Linked DNA regions of Homo sapiens: region 2 is linked to region 1. The links are contacts of gene promoters, found by promoter capture Hi-C in blood cells and fetal thymus (Javierre and others, 2016). All regions are on one chromosome and are shown on one strand. The core of a region is centred on a gene start or on the middle of the fragment in contact, and the rest is flanking DNA. Distances in the headings are between cores, read along the strand shown.

Region 1 (5,223 bases), core at 287-2,786:
GTTGAAAAACTTCAATCTCTCTTATACTGTCATTACCTCAGGCATCTTCAAAGAAGTCAGACCTAATTCAAGGTGACAGGCAGTTTTGAGCCAAGTGACTCAACCGAGAAAAATTATATAAAGGTAAAATGTACTTTGTGTGCTATAAAATAAAGGAGGAGACAGATGAAGTGCGTTAATAACCAAATAATTAGTATAGACCATTTAGATAGTTCATCATAACTGGATCATGCAATAACCAAATACACAACAGGCCAGGAAATAACATTTTCAGAAATGGCCTCCTAACTGGTTTTCCTAATTCTACCCTTGCCCTCCTACACTGTTCCCAGCAGCCAATGTAGTCCTAAAAAAAAGTCAGATCACATCATTCCTCTGATGGAAACCCCTCCAATGGCTCTGCGTTTTACTCAGAGGAAAAGCCAAAGACCTTATCATAGCTTTCAACACCTTTCTGACTTCATCTCCTTCCCACATCCTCTCTCACTACCCTCCAGCCACACTGACCTCCTTGCTGTTCCTTTAACACACCAAACACACTCTTATTTTAGAGTCTTTGCCATGATCCTAACAATCTGAATTATAAGTAAAACATTTTATAAACTAAATATTTCTCTTTTTTATTCTGTAGCAAGGCAACATGTTGACATAGCCCAAGCATTCTAACAGCATTCTAACCATCAGCAAGTGATGAAATAAATAATGAAAGACACGTATGTAAAATCATGATCCAGAAGTGCTGCAGATCGCCAGATAAGTATAAATGAGAATATTTGTAATAAATGTGTTAGACCCCAATCCAGTTAATATTAAAAAAAGGCATCTCAAACATCTCCCTTTAAAAATCAAGTACTATATACACAAAAACAACTCTACATGCTCCCCAAGATCAAGCAGCAGTTAAGGGGTGACATCTCCATACATTTATTCACTGACTGATTCAATATTTGAGTACTTCTGCAGTTCAGCTGTGAAAAAAATACGACCCCTGCCCATAATAATTGCTGGACGTTCGATGTAAAGTATTATCGACTCAAAAAAAAAGAAAATATCTGGGATTCATGCTCAGGGACCCGTGTGGCGCGGTCTAAAGAATTAGGCAGCCACCATGCCAAGTCCCAAGAGATGAATCAAATCAAGTTGGCTTATTACCCCATTCCCTTCTCTGCCTAAACGCCATTCCTTCACTCCAATAGAATAGCCCTAATGTTGTTGCAGAGATACGTGTGTAGAACAAAACTCCAGCTCTGAAAGCTCAAAACCCAGAGCTTCTTCCAACCCCTTCTCTCCGACGCTTCCAAGAGACGCTCCAAGAACTCAGAAAAAAAAAAAAACTCGTCAACGTTTCGCTAGATCACAGCCTTGGGTTGTCCACAAAAACCACTCAAAAAAGCTTGAGACTTCACACAAAGGAACCTAAACCTTGAAACCGCGAGCTATAACATCCCAAACTGGTCCACAGACAATCAAGAGACAAAATATAGCAATACAGTATACCTCGGATATCCACCGCCGCCATAATTCCGAGAGCGTTTACAGGTTCTCTTTCCGGCGCAAAGTAAACGTAAGCCTAGGCCGCCGGAAGCAGCGGGTTGAAGAGAGTGCGCATGGGTGAGGAGGGACGTAGAGCGGAAGAGGGGGCGGGGCGGGCAGGAGAGAGGCAGGGGGTGGAGGTGCGGGTGGGAGGGGAGGAGACGCGAGGGGGCGGAAAGCGGGAGAGGCGCGGGAGGCGGGAAACGTGGGGTGGGGTGGGGTGGGGTGGGGTAGGGGAATGGGAGGGGACGGGACGCAGAAAGATTGGTGCAGGGGAGCAGGGAAAGACTAGAAGAGGGATGGGCCAAAGAAGGAGAACGGGAGGGCGGATTACTGGGAAAAAAATTAGAAGACTTAGAGGACAGAAAGACCGAGTGGAGTCCCGCCCCACGCCCACCACTGATGGAAGAATTCTGCCTTGATCGTCTGTGATCGTCAAGAAAACAAATTCTGATGCTGTAGAGTTGTGCTTGGGAGTGTCTCTTAATTTTAAAAGCTCCCCGGGTGTATCCACTGAGCTATCAGATTTAGGAACGATGGTCATTTATATTTTTCTCCCTGCCTCAGGTATTGGGATGGGACAGGACTTAAGAATTTGGGAGTCATTGGCTTTTATGTGACTAAATCCATTAAAAATCTAAACCAATTAAAGAAGCCTCTGAGAAAAATTTCACAACACAGGAAATGCTTCTGAAGTGAAATATTAATAAGATTAAGAGAAAGGGAATACCCCTGGGTCCCAGAGTAATGAGCAAATGTCTGCATTCCAAGTAGTCTGGAGTAGGTAGCAAGGCTCCAAAGAGGGAATGATTCTGTGTACGGGGAAGCTACAGAAAGCCTCAGATTCTCAAGCTTCAGTGTGGCTCTGTAAAAGCAAAACGATACAGAAATATGCAAACAACACACAGATACTAGGAAGAGGATGCCAAAATCTGAAGGAGGGATGAGGGCGGGTGCCTACATCTTCTCCAAAACTTAGGTACTGTGAAGACTCCCCAAGAATTTAACCACAACCCAGGAGCAAGAGGGGAAGACCAGAAATTTAATTGGGATTTTCAACCTCATAGACAAGGAATTAAAAATTTGTTAACTCCGTAGAATAAAAGTACGTTGCCTGTACATTTCAGTTTGGGAATTTTCTGCCTGAGATGGTATGTATAAAATAGGTGTCCCAACAGAAGTATGTGCATGCACAGAGTAAAGTTTTGAGAGAGAATTTTTCAGGAGGGCCTGGTTGGGAGCCTAGTGGGAGGACATTGCAAAAAGGAAGAGTATCGTGTCCAATAAAAAGTGTGATCCATAAAGCTTTTTGTTTTGTTTTTCTAGTTTTTTGTTTCCTTGTGTTTTGATTAGGCTAGAAGGAGATTAGGAAGAATAGTGACAGAATGCAGATCTGTAGATAATAAAACATATGGTATGCATGGTAAATAAGACCTGGAAGCTCAACCTTTATTTTGTAGGCAATGGGAGAAATGTGATCAAGCTTCCATTTTAGAAAGATAACTTGAGGAAGACAGGGCAAGGTGGCTCACGCCTGTAATCCCAGCACTTTGGGAGGCCAAGATGGGAGGATTGCTTGAGCCCAGGAGCTGGAGACCAGCCTGGTCAAGATAGCGAGATCCCATCTCTATTTCTTTTATATTAATTGTTTCAGTTAATAAAGAAATATAAATTAAAAAGTGTGGTAACAAAAACAAGAGAAGACAAGATAGGGAGGAAGCCACTTTGGGTAGGACAGTCAGGACAGGCCTCTCTGAGGAAGTGATACCTGAGATGAGACCTGGAAGATGAAAGCAAATCACTCATGTGAAGAGCTGGGGCACAAGCATATCAGACAGAGGGGACCATGGACCCTACAGTGGGAAAGGGGTTGGTCTGAGAACCACAGAAAGGCCAGTGTAAGCCGGGTTGTATGAGTGAAGGATGAATGATGGGAAAAGAGACTGGGAATGAAGGCAGGGGCCAGATGATAGAGAGCCTGGTCAATAATTTATTTTTTATTCAAAGAACATAGGAAGCTATTAAAAGATTTGAATGAGTAGAATGCCACAAAGGTTCTGACTGGAAATTTGTTTATGGATGTCAAAAGTATTTGTTGTGCTTATTGAGCCACTTACTATGGACGAGGCACTGTGCTAAGCACTTTGACGAACTATCTAGTTGTTCCCTCAAAACAATTTTATGAGGCAGAAGCTATTACTCCCATTTTTAAATGAGGAGACGGACTGAGGCAGATGAGCTAGCTTTTCACCAAACTTATTATCTACTTGGGTATACAGCTAAGCTATATTTTCCACCACCCTTGCACCTGGATGGAGCTACATAGCCAGTTCTCATCAAGGGACTGTGAATGGAAGTGATAAGTGTTACCTCCAGGCCAAGACAGTGAAAAACACTGGTTCCATCTTCACTTTCTCTCTCTGTATTCACCAGCTAGATGCCAGAGAAACCTAAGGTCATGGATTGAAAGTGGTGGTGATGGGGAGTTGGGGGGCTGGGGTCTCTGAATGACTGACCACAGGTGCTGAGCCACCTTGCTGACCTAAACTGGATCCAAAGCAAGAAATAAGATTTTATTATGTTAAAAATACACACATGCACACAAAATTGCTATGTACTGTCTCCTCCATAAAATCAGTAATACTGGTGTAATCTATTTTCTGTAGGATATATTAAAATGTGTACCTGCCTCCACTATATACAGTATGACCTTTTGAGGCTTTAGGATTTGGAAACTTAGATAATTTAATATGTGAGAATGCAAGTAAAAGAGAAAAAACAAGATCTTCAGTATGGAAGTGGGAATGATTTCTGATTGGTTAAAGATGAAATGATGCTCATGGATAATTGATAATGTGTGGTACTCATCTTCCTCCATAAGATCACCATCTAGAAAAACAGCTTTCCTTCACACACGCTCCCTTTAAATACCTGACACCATGATCCTCGTTACTACGTTTTTCTTTCTCTAACATTCTCTCCAATATTCTAAATTTACACGTCATGTCATCCCACTCTGTACCTATAGAAATGTGTGCCCTTCCTTATAGGAATACCTCTATAATTGCCTGGCCTGAATTCAGACTCTTTTCTAAAAAAAAATTCTCTAGACTGTAAACTCTGTGAGGACATGGTCATGTCTGTGTTTGCCTGGTGTTACTTACTTAGTCTCTGGCAGGGTGTTTTTGATATAGTAGCTGTTCAACAAATATTTGTTGAATGAACAAATTCATGTATAAATGAATGGATGATATGATGGCCCTCAGATAAATAATAAACTTCATTAATTCAATAATAAATGAAATATGAAATTGTTAATGGAAATTGATTTATGGGAAGTTATAAGAAAATTCTTAAAATCTCTCCTGATGTTAGAATGATGCCAAACGCACAACTTTATTTATACTAATATTCTAAATAAAAACAACATGGTTATATTTTGTTTGGTGTCCTATCAGGAAAGTATTTTAGCAAATGACAAATGTGTGGGGTGTTTTTCCTTCTTATTTAGTGAAGAAAAGTCCAGCTACTTCATTATACAAAGCAGAAAATTGCCTTAGAAATACTGAGGAATTATCTCTGAAAAGTTACCTTGGAAACTCTGAGATTGGCCCCAGTGGTCTAGGGAGAGGTATGGTACCAATTTTTTTGTGATTTAAGGGTTACAAGAAAAGCTACACAACCCCTTAA
Region 2 (4,647 bases), core at 1,991-4,490, 840 kb before region 1:
ATGAAGCTGATTCTCAGGGGAAGCAGAGCCGAGAGATGGATGCTGTAGACACCACTTGAACTCTGTATCAAGCCAAGCCCACAGTGTGCCTGTGTATAAAATGTTCAGTTATACTAACCAACAAATACAACTTTTTTTTTTTCTTTTGAGACAGAGTCTTACTCTGTCGCCCAGGCTGGAGTGCAATGGTGCAATCTCAGCTCACTGTAACCTCCACCTCTCAGGTTCAAGCAATTCTCCCGCTTCAGCCTCCCAAGTAGCTGGGATTACAGGCACCCACCATCATGCCCAGCTAGCTTTTGTGTTTTTGTAGAGACACAGTTTCACCATGTTGGCCAGGCTGGTATTGAACTCCTGACCTCAGGTGATCTGACTGCCTTGGCCTCCCAAAGTGCTGGGATTACAGGCATGAGGCACCACACCCAGCCAAAACTTTTCTTAAGGTGGTTATACTGGGATTCTGTTCCTTGTTACATAAAGAGTCCTAACTGGTTTTGGCCACCGTCCCCCACGCAGCCTTTCCCGCCTAAAACATAAATCTGATCATGTTATCTCTTGTGTAAAACCTTGTGGCATCTACTTGGTGCCCACTGGGTAGAGTATAAGCTCATTAACATGGTAGTTAAGATCTACTACCATCCTCCTAATGTCCACCTTCAGCTTCTTTTTTCCTTGCTTCTGTTTTAAGCAACACTCAGCTATTTATACAATATACCCTGACATTATGAATAGAGTCTTTGGCTGGGAGCTCATGAGGCTTAATCAGGAATTAGGACAGCAGAAGCCATGAGAGTGGACTATACCCAGCCTGATCAAGGTAGCTATATGCCCCAGACCTAGACCCAGAAGCTGTCTTAGTTTTATGTGCTAATGATGGAGATGCTGGGCCTTTCCTGGTCACTGGCACCTATGGTCTGAAGTTATCTCCCAAAATTAATGTGTTAGAAATGCAATTCCCAATTCAACAATGTTGAGAGATGGGGCCTTTGGGGAGGGTTTAGGTCATGAGAGCTCCACCCTCATGAACGAATTAATGATGTTATAAAGGAGGTTGTTGGAGGGAACTTACTCCTCTTGCCTTTTTGTCTTCTGCCATGTGGGGACACAACTTTCCTCTCCTCTAGAAGGTGCAGCATTGAAGGTGACATCTTGGAAACAGAGAGTAGCTCTCATCAGATGCTGGCACCTTGGTTTTGGACTCCCAGCCTCCAGAACTGTGAGAAATACATTTCTTTTCTTTATAAATTACTCAGTCTGTGGTATTCTGTTATAGCAGGACAAACAGACTAAGATACTGGCTTTTAGTCAGGCTCCTGGTTTCTGTAGCCCTGTATTCCTAAAGGTATTTCGCTGTGAATTCAACCAATTCTCTACAGAGCTCAACAGGATGGTCTAATTGCTTCAGCAGTGGGATATCTTAGTTCAATTCTCCTTAACCCAAGCCATGGCCCATTTGGATGAGTACTCAATATCCAAGCTCTTAAAAGAGGACACTTTGTTTTAGGTACAGTAGCCAGGAAGAAAAATATGGCAGAGCTTCCCATTCCCTTCCATACTTTTTGTGCAAGAGTAAGCCACTTTTTTCTGGACTAAACATGGCCCACTTGTGGGTGGTCTGATTTATAGAACAGATAAGGTATCAAATGTTCTTCACTGGATTAATTCTGTGTACCTTGCCCCTAATAATTATATCAGGGAAGGAATAATTCCCAGGATTGGGGCTGATTTGGCAGGGTCTCTACAATGGCACTGTTACGAATTGCTTTAGGGAGTTCATGCTTTTGAGGCTTCCCTCTTGATATCAAAAAAGGAAATAGCCCAGTAATTAGTCAGTTTCCAGTTCCTGATAGCTTGTGGGGGTGGAGGAGTTTTAGAGGGTAGGCATTAGGGGGTGGTCCTTGGGTAGATATGGCCCTTGTCTGGTTACTTCTCTTTTTCATAAATCCTTGAGTGCTGCTATGGTTTGAATGTGTTGGCTAAACTTTGTGTATTGGAAACTTAATCCCCAATGTAACAGTGTTGAGAGGTAGGACCTTTAAGAGGTGATTAGGTCATGAAGGCTCTGCCCTCGTGAATGGATTAATGCCGTTATAATGGGAGTGGGTTTGTTATTGAGAGAGTGGGTTTCTCATGAAAGTGAGTTTAGGCCGGGCGCGGTGGCTCACGCCTGTAATCTCAGCACTCTGGGGGGCCGAGGCAGGTGGATCACGAGGTCAGGAGATCGAGACCATCCTGGCTAACATGGTGAAACCCCGTCTCCACTAAAAAAAAAAAAAAAAAATTAGCCGGGCATGGTGGTGGGCACCTGTAGTCCCAGCTACTCGGGAGGCTGAGGCAGGAGACTGGTGTGAACCCGGGAGGCGGAGCTTGCAGTGAGCTGAGATCGTGTCACTGCATTCCAGTCTGGGCAACAGAGTGAGACTCTGTCTCAAAAAAAAAGAAAGTGAGTTCAGCCCTTTGTTGCTCTGTCTCTTACACACTCCTTGCTATGGGATGCCTTCTGATCTAGGCACTCAAATTAGTAAGTTCATAGGTATTTTAAATATTGTACACTGAGTTAAACAACAACAACAAAAATCAGAATGTAACAATCTAAGGAAGTCAGGTAGGTATATAAAGGTGAACCTGAGTAAAAAACTGGACATTAACAAACCCCATATATTTCTAAGAGAAATTACTTAAATATAGTTATTCTTTTGAAAAATCTTTAGAATTATAAGGTAGAGGCAAGGAAGTAACACTTTTTCTTCGTGTTGGGATTTTTTGGATAGCAATTTTTAAGCATCTGCTGACATTTAAGACATTTTCAGAAAAACAGAAAAGTTGGTCAGAATGAATATTTTCCCCAAGCATGTAGTTGTGTAAAGTGAAAATAACAGTAAAAATTTGAATATATACTCATGATCATAAAATATTAAGACAAAGAAACATGGCAAATGCACATGGTTAAGTTTTAGGAATTAAGAAGCCCTCATAAAACCAAGTATATGTATGACGATGATTCATATTTTGAAAACACAATTGTTCTTATAGAAGAACACGAAAGGGAAAGTTCAATAATGCTAAGTAGTTTTCTCTTAGGGGCTGGGAATAGGGATGACTTTTAAAAATCTCATATCTATGTTTTAAAAAACGATGAGGTACTACTTTTTTATTGAAAAACATTAAACAGAAAAAAAAAACCCACAAAAAGGAAATACAGCAAACTACAATCAGAGGTTGAGTTGCTGAGACAGGGTTGTGTTTCATTCTTTCAATATTTTTGACCGGGCACAGTGGCTCACGCCTATAATCCCAGCCCTTTGGGAGGCTGAGGTGGGCAGATCATGAGGTCAGGAGTTTGAGACCAGCTTGGCCAATATGGTGAAACCCTGTCTCTACTAAAAAATGCAAAAAATTAGCTGGGCGTGGTGGCATGTGCCTGTAGTCCCAGCTACTGGGGAGGCTGAGGCAGGAGAATCACTTGAACCCGCCAGGCAGAGGATGCAGTGAGCCGAGGTCACGCCACTGCACTCCAGCCAGGCGACAGAGCGAGAATATGTCTAAAAAAAAAAAAAGATGAGGTACTACTTTTGTACTGAAAAACATGAAACAGAAAAAAAAAAACCCCACAAGAAGGAAATACAACAAACTACAATCAGAGGTTGACTTGGTGAAACAGGATTGTGTTTTCCTCTTTCAATATTTTCCTGTTGAACATTTTTCCTATAATAAGCATATATGTATACTTCTTTTTATAACAGGAATCAAACTTTATTTTAAAAATAAAGATCAAATCCTGTTTCTTTGTTTTCAGTTTTTCTTTGTTTACAGTTTTATTATCTGACAAAGGGGGTTGGGTGGAGCATTCATAGAGCAGTTGAAAATCTAGGAATCAGTTCAAGGGTCAGAAAATGATTTTTAAAAATAATTTAAAATTTTTCTATTGATACATATAATTTCTACATACTTGGGGGCATATGAAATATTTTATTACATGCATAGGATGTGTAATGATCAAGTCAGAGTATTTAGGATATTCATTACTTTGTGGGTTTATCACTTCTATGTGTTGGGAACATTTTAAGTCCTCTCTTCTAGCTGTTCTAAAATATAAAATACATTGTTGTTTATATAGTCCCCTATTCTGCGATTGAATATTAGATCTTATTCCTTCTATCTAACTGTATGTTTGTACTTACTAATCAATCTCTCTTATCTACCCCACCCCATCAGCAAATGTTTTCTGTAAAGGACCAGACAGTAAATATTTTAGGCTTTCAGGCCATATGGCCTCTACCGTAGCTACTCAGCCCCGCCTTTGTAGCACAACAGATATAGGCAATAAGTAAATGAACAGGAGTGGCTGTGTTCCAAAAATTTATTCATTTATGGATACTGACCTTTAAATTTCATATAATTTTCATGTGCTATCAGATATTCTTCTTCTTTTGTTCCCCCACAACCACTCCACTAAAACACAAAAAATTAGCCAGGCATGGTGGCGTGTGCCTGTAGTCCCAGCTACTCGGGAGGCTGAGGCGGGAGAATTGCTTGAACCCGGGAGGCGGAGGTTGCAGTGAGCCAAGATCACACCACTGCACTCCAGCCTGGGTGACAGAGAGAGACTCCGTCTCCAAAAAAAAAAAAAAAAAGATTTGCTTCTAA

The links. The method cuts DNA at HindIII sites, captures the fragments that hold promoters and counts their contacts. A CHiCAGO score of 5 or more calls a contact.
Region 2: a fragment that was not itself captured here is called in contact with the fragment with the promoter of MED6 in region 1 in 1 of 17 cell types (fetal thymus); the score reaches 5.6 in fetal thymus.

Annotation. Positions count from the first base shown.
Region 1 is chr14:70,599,119-70,604,341 of GRCh38, forward strand. It overlaps MED6 (mediator complex subunit 6), which reads right to left and starts at 1,537. Exons shown (of 8, transcript NM_005466.4): 1 at 1,498-1,537. The coding sequence starts at 1,519. RefSeq lists an enhancer at 1,039-2,238. The HindIII fragment of the contact is 992 bases long and covers 1,392-2,383 here.
Region 2 is chr14:69,759,168-69,763,814 of GRCh38, forward strand. No RefSeq gene overlaps it. Among named protein-coding and RNA genes, the nearest start is that of SRSF5, 5.7 kb to the right of the region's middle. The HindIII fragment of the contact is 6,711 bases long and covers 1-4,647 here.